Regions from separate parts of the Homo sapiens genome. Here region 1 is linked to region 2. Evidence: promoter capture Hi-C in 16 types of primary human blood cells and fetal thymus (Javierre and others, 2016). All regions are on one chromosome and are shown on one strand. Each heading gives the region's core, a stretch centred on a gene start or on the middle of the fragment in contact. The rest is flanking DNA. Distances are from core to core; before and after follow the strand shown.

Region 1 (3,780 bases), core at 1,185-3,684, 510 kb before region 2:
AACCCCAGCTACTTGGGAGGCTGAGGCAGGAGAATCGCCTAAACCCAGGGTGCAGATGTTGCAGTGAGCTGAGATCGCCCCACTTCAGCCTGGGCGAAAGAGCAAAACTCCATCTCAAACAAACAAACAAACAAACAAACAACTCCCATTATGATTGTAGATGCATCTATATTTCCTTGCAGTTCAATCCATTTTTTTAAATTAAATAAACTCCATGCTTTACTTGTATTTCACTGTTTTCTCCCTAATGTCGTTTTTCAATTCAGGGTCCCATCTAGGATACCACATTACATTTAGTTGTTGTGTCTCCTTTAGCCCCCTCTTGTCTGTGACAGTTTCTCAGACTTTCCTTTTTACCTTTTCCAATACTTTGAAAGTTTTAATGAGTATTAGTCAGGTATTTTGTAGAATGTCCTTCAATTTTGGCTTGTCTAGTGTTTTCTTCATGGTTAGATAGGGGTTCTATGTTTTGGGGAGGTAAACCACAGAGGTGAAGTGCCATCCTCATTACATCTCATTAAAAATGTAGGTATTATCTGCTGGATGCAATGACTCACACATGCAATCCTAGTACTTTAGAAGGCCAAGGTTGGGGGGATCACTTGAGGTCAGGAGTTCGAGACCAGCCTGGCCAAGTGGATTCATAGGCAAATTCTACCAAATGCCAAACTTTCTCAAATTCTTCTAAAGAATAGAATAAAAATCTCACCCCAGGCTGGGTGTGGTGGCTCACGCCTGTAATCCCAGTACTTTGGGAGGCCAAGGCAAGCAGATCACTTGAGGTCAAGAGTTGGAGACCAGCCTGGCAAACACGGTGAAACCCTGTCTCTACTAAAAATACAAAAATTAGCCAGGCATGGTGGCATGCACGTGTAATCCCAGCCACTTGGGAGGCTGAAGCAGGAGAATCGCTTGAACCCAGGAGGCAGAGGTTGCAGTGAACAGAAATCTTACCACTGCACTCCAGCCTGGTGACAGAGTGAGACCTTGTCTCAAAAAACTAAAACTAAAAGGTAGGTATTATCCACATAACTGATCTTTTTAATCTTGATTACCAGGCCGGGATACTATTTGCCAGGTTTCTACTTCTCCACCTGGCTTCCCTATTCTACTCTTTGGAAGCGAGTCAGTAAGTGCAGCCCACACTCTAGGGGTGAGGAGTTAAGCTCCACTTCCTTGGGGAAGAAGCAACTACATACCTTTATTATATAATTCTGTATGGGACATTTGTCCCTTCTCTCCCATTTATTTACTATATCATTTATTTATATCCATATGGACTCATAGATATTTATTTATGTTTTGAGTTATAATCAAATACTATTAGTACATTATTTATTTTGCTGCTCAAATTTTTCCAGCTTTGGCCACCGAGAGCTCTTTAATGTTGGCTTGTTTCAGTCAGCATAAAGTTTTTGAGACTCATCCATTTTGTTGTTATCAGTAGTCTGTTTCTTTTAATTGCAAGAAGTATTGTATTTTATGAATATATCCCACTTCATAAACATTGGGTTATTTCCAGTTTTGGCTATCAGAAATGCAAAGCTTCTATGAACAGTTATGTATACGTCTCTTCGTGGACATATGTTTTCATTTACTTTGAATAAATACACAGGTGTAAAATTAGAGTCATCAGCTAGCTTTATGTTTAATAAGAAGCTACCAAGCAAGCAACTTTTCAAAGTAATTGTGCCATTTCACACATCCAAGAGCAACGTGAGAGTTTTTGTTATGTCAAATGCTTGCCAACATGTGGTGTTGACAGTCTTTATAATTTTAGACATTCTAGTAGGCATGTAGTGATTCATTATGGCTTTAATTTGCCTTTGCCTGCTGAGTAATGATGTCGAGCACTTTTTTTATATGTCTTTGTCCATTCATATGTCTTTGTTTGCTTCTGAAAATGTTGCTCAAGTCTGTCATCCACATTTTTATTGTGTTAGAAGTTCTTTATTATTCTGGATAGAAATCCATATTCAGATATATGTACTGTGAATGTTTTCTACCAGCCTTTGGTTTTGCCTGTTCGTTTTCTTAGCTGAGTCTTTTTTTTTGTATTGTGGTAAAAACCACACAACATTAAACCATCCTAAACATTTTTAAATGTACATTTCAGTACTGTTAAGTATATTCACTTGTGCAACAAGTCTCTAGAAATTTTTCTTCTTGCAACACTGAAACTCTATACCTACCAAACATGAATTCCCCATCCCACCTCCCGCAAGTTCTTGGCGACTACCTTTTTACTTTATGTTTTGAGGATTCTGACTTATTTAGATACTTTATATGAGTGAATTATACAGTATTTGTCCATTTGTGACTGGCTTATTTCACTTAGCATAATGTCCTTAAGCTTCATTCATGTTGTAACATGCCCTTTTTTAAGGGCACATAAAATTCCATTATGTGCATATACCACATTTTCTTATCCAATTACCTGTTATTTCCTCCTGTTGGCTATTGTGAATAATCCTGCAATGAACATGGGTGTGCAAATATCTCTGAGATCTGCTTTGAAGCTTTTTGGCTATATACCCAAAAGGGGGATTGCTGGATCATATGATAGTTCTATTTTTAATGTTTTGAGAAACTCCATACTGTTTTTCATAACATCTGTATAATTTACTTTCCCACCACCAGTGCATGAGGACCCAAACTTCTCTGCATCCTTGTCAACACTTGTTATTTCCTGTTATTTTTATAATGGCTATCCTGATGGGTGTGAGGTGATATCTCATTGTGAGTTTTATTTACATTTCCCTAGTGATTAATGATGTTGAGCATATTTTCATGTACTTAATAACCATTCATATATCTTCTTTGGAGAAATGTCTATTTAAATCCTTTGCCAGTTTTTAAATTGGATTATTTGGGGTTTTTCTTGTTGTTAAGTTGTACAAGATCCTTATATATTCTGGATATTGACCCCTTATCAGATATATGACTTGCAACTCTTTTCTCCCATTCCATAGGTTGCCTTTTCTCTCTGTTGACTGTTACTTTGATGTGTAAAAAAACTTAAGTTTTATGTAGTACTATTTGTCTATTTTTTATTTTGTTGCCTGTGCTTTTGGTATCATATCCAAGAAATTATTGCCAAATCCAATTGTTGGCATATAATTGCTCATAATGGCATTTACATTTTAAGAAATTGCTGATAGTGAAGGACTTACTGTTGCCATTTTGTTCATTGTGTTCTGTTTCACTTGTAGCTTTCTTTGTCCCCCCCCCCTTTTTTCTTTTGATAATTTCTTTTGTGTTTCATTAATTTTTTTTTGTGGCCACAGATTTTGATTCCCTTCTCACTTCCTTTCCTTTACAGTCTTTGTCCATTTTCTGTTGCTGTAACAGAATACTTGAGACCAGGTAATTTATTTTTTAAAAAGAGGTTTGTTTAGCTCACAGTTCTTGATGCTGGGAAGTTCAAGATCAAACAGCTGCATCTGACGAGGGTCTCATGCTGTGTCATAACATGGAGGATGGCATCACATGGTGGTTATGCATGTGAGAGCACTGAGCGGGTACACACACAAGAGAGAAAACATGAGGGGTGACCTCACTTTATAACAACCCACTCTTGCGGTAACTAATCCAGTCACTGAAGAGCAATAATTCACTCCTGTGAAATGGCATTAATCCCTTCATAAGGACAGATGGCTTATGACCCAAATGCCTCTTAAAGGTCCCACCAGTTCTCAACACCATTACATGGGGAACAAGCCTTAACATGAATTTCAGTGGGGGATAAACCATATTCAAATCATAGCACTTACATTCTAT
Region 2 (3,432 bases), core at 260-2,759:
CAGTCTGAGGCAGGTAACTTGGGCAGCTGCCTCTGAGGTGGTGATTTCCCTGAGATGTGGGGGCAGGAGAGAATTGGACAACCAGAGGGAAGATTGGTCTAACTGCAGCAGATTGGGTAGATAAGATAAGTGAGGCCCTGAAATGATCACATGCAATGGAAAAGTTCTTTAAAAAAAAAAAAAATTTTTTTTTTTTAATTAGCAGTCATGGTTCTGAGGTTTGGTTCCATGTGCCCTTTCCGTGTACTGCCTTCCGAGGTCCTGATTCTCACAGTCCCTTATTGGTTCCAATGGCCCAGGACCCCAGTCCTTGCCACCAGCATGATGGATCTTGTGAGTAGTCCTAGTTCCTACTCAGACCTGATCCAAAGGAGAAGTGGGCAGAGACCCAGGTTCCAGCTCCAGCACCAGCTGCCTCTGAGCCATTTCTGCTTCCTACCAGGTGAAGCTCCTGGGAGGGAAGGGGCCCAGGACCTGGAATGATAAAGCTCCCTGGAAAGCCAGCCATGGCCAGTCTGCAGCCCCTGGGGACTCTGTGAGAGTCTGGATGCAGACAGGCCAGGGGCTGCCACCTCAGGAAAGCTGAGGACCTCAATGTCCACTGGGAAGAGATGGGAGGGAGGCATGGTTCTAGGAGGGTACTGCTGGTCTGCCCTTCCATTCATCTGGGAATCCATTTCCTTGTGGAAAGTGCAATCAGAGAGGTTCTTCACATCCTTACAACAGTCTTAGTGGCCCCTTCTCTTTGGACTCTCCCAAGATGCAAAGAGTGTTTCCGGAGATTAGTAGGCTCAAGAAGGGAGGGGAGTTAGCAATAAATTTTGAACAATCTTCAAACACTTTGGGTAGCTCTTAAGGATGAACTTGTTCAGCTTCTGAGACAGGTGTGTGACAAGTAAGACTGTGACTGATCTTCAGAAGAGCCCTGAGAACAGGAGATCACCAGCAGCCAGGAGCTGTGGAAGGTTGCCTTGGGGGAGCAGGGGTCCTGCTAACCCAGCATAACTTCTATTCTTAAGGTAGTACCCAGAGCAGAGGTTCCCAAAACATGAAACACAGATGAGCTCCATCAAAATCACCTGAAAGCTCCATCAAATTCACCTGGAAAGCATCGATAGCCAAAGCCTGCCCCCTCTGCAGCCTCCACCCACTGAATCAGAAGAGGGTCCCGGAGATCTGCATTTCACTCTAAAAGGCAACCTCCAGTGCTCCTTAGACTTGCTTAGAAAATACTGTAAATCTGAAGACTTATACAACTCTAAGTGTCTCAGAAACTCAGGGTGAAGAATCACAAGTTCTCTACTACCCTGCCCCATTTTTAATCACACTCATCACAGACCACAGAGCACCTGGCAAACCCAGGAACGGTGGGTTGAAGATATGTTTTCTTCTAGCAGATTAAGAGCTGAGCAGAGTTTCCTGTGCCCTGTGCTTCATTAGCACATTGGTGGTGTCGTTTCCGGTGACTGACTCTCTGTTTCCATTCTGGCAAAGTGGTTTGCTCTTTTCACTCTGCTTTGGGTGTTGAAGGAAGACGAGCTTCTCACGGAGCCTCTCTTGAGCCTCTTGGCAGTTTCCCCCTCTGTGCCCCTCACGTTTCCACCAGAAACGTGAAGGCAGAGGCCACAGATTCTCCCTGAGCCACCTCACTTGGAAGCACCATGTCCGGATGAGATCGCACTTCCTGCAGTGGGCATTAGCCACGTCCAGGTAGAACCAAACCTGTTGCTTTTGTATGTTGGGTCAACTTGGCCTGACGTTTCAGAGGTAGACACGAGATAGGGAGTTTGTTGCGGGGGTGGGGAGAAGTGGTAGACATGCTGGCTAACTGATTATGATTAAGAGAAACTTAGAAGCTGAAGCCAGAGAGCATCTCAAAGGTTCCTGATACAATGGATGGTGTCACTCCAACCCTTTCGACAATCAGAGGGAGGACCTTGGAGTCCAGCACTCTGCATGTGACTCCCCGCAGCCTGGACAGGTGAGTGACTCAGGGTGGTGAGCTCCACCCTGCCCTGATTTAGGCAGAAGGTCCTAGTCCACCCTTAGGAGCTTCTTACACAGCAGTGCTGCCACCTCTCAACACCCAGGCTCGGTCTACTAAACCACCAAACTCTAGGCTTGGAGGCATTTGCTCAGGGGTGCTAGGGGGAAAGGAAGGTATTGAGGAAAGAAAGAAAATATTGTGGTAGAGGAAAAACTGTGATAACACTGGCCCTTAAAGCTAGTTGCTTAGACTGGTTGGATTTCTCACCTCTCGGAGGCCCTGAACCCTATCATCAGTCTTTCCTAGGTGTCACCATGACAGAAACAAAAGGCTGAGTTTTCCAAGGATGTGTTTTGAGATCCAAAAACTTGTCATGAATAAAAAATGTAGTGATAGATGTAATAAAGATACGTCCTTAGGACGTAAAATCTTACAGAACTAATCATGGGTATGAATTACTGCTACTACTTTCAATCTCATACAAACAAAATTAAAAATCCATCCACAGTTGAAACTTTAAAAACATTGGCAGCTGACTGGGCGCGGTGGCTCACACCTGTAACCCCAGCACTTTGGGAGGCCGAGTGGGGCGGATCACCCCCACTCTTGAACCAGCCTGGCCAAGACCAGCCTGGCCAACATGGTGAAACCCCGTTTCTACTAAAAATACAAAAATTAGCCGGGAGTGGTAGCATGCTCCTGTAGTCCCAGCTACTCAGGAGGCTGAGGCAGGAGAATCACTTGAACCCGGGAAACAGAGGTTGCAGTGTCATGTCATTGTACTCCAGCCTGGGCAACAAAAGCGAAACTCTGTCTCAAAAAATAAAATAAAATTGCAGTCGTTTGGGGAAATAAATGTTATTATCATGGCAAACACATGTCACTTGCTGGTAGATATGAGCATCAATGAGCAATGAATCAGAAGCCTGAAGCATCTCTCCAAAACTATTTCTTCATTTATTTTTATTTATTTCTAATTGGCAAATCAAAATTATATATATTTATCATGATAGCCTGTTGTTTTGAAATATGTATACATTGTACAATAGCTACATTAAACTAATTAAGATACACATTACTTCACAATTTTCTTTTGTGGTGAGAATACTTAAAATTTCTCAGCAATTTTCAAGAATATGACACATTTTTATTAACTATAGTCATCAACACTTTTTTTGTTTTGTTTTGTTTGTTTTTTTTATTTTTATTTTTTTAGACAGAGTCTCGCTCTGTCGCCCAGGCTGGAGTGCAGTGGCGTGATCTCGGCTCACTGCAGCCTCCACCTCCCAGGTTCAAGCTATTCTCCTGCTTCAGCCTCCTGAGTAGCTGGGATTGCAGGCATGTGCCACCACCCGCGGCTAACTTTTTTTTGTATTTTTAGTAGAGATGGGGTTTCTTCATGTTGGTCAGGCTGGTCTCGAACTCCCTACCTTAGGTGATCCGCC

What was found. The method cuts DNA at HindIII sites, captures the fragments that hold promoters and counts their contacts. A CHiCAGO score of 5 or more calls a contact.
Region 1: a fragment that was not itself captured here is called in contact with the fragment with the promoter of LAX1 in region 2 in 3 of 17 cell types (total B cells, naive CD4 T cells and naive B cells); the score reaches 5.4 in total B cells.

What each region holds. Positions count from the first base shown.
Region 1 is chr1:203,249,298-203,253,077 of GRCh38, forward strand. No RefSeq gene overlaps it. Among named protein-coding and RNA genes, the nearest start is that of CHIT1, 22 kb to the left of the region's middle. The HindIII fragment of the contact is 166 bases long and covers 2,352-2,517 here.
Region 2 is chr1:203,763,674-203,767,105 of GRCh38, forward strand. It overlaps LAX1 (lymphocyte transmembrane adaptor 1), which reads left to right and starts at 1,510. Exons shown (of 5, transcript NM_017773.4): 1 at 1,510-1,981. The coding sequence starts at 1,893. RefSeq lists an enhancer at 1,393-1,752. The HindIII fragment of the contact is 21,277 bases long and covers 1-3,432 here.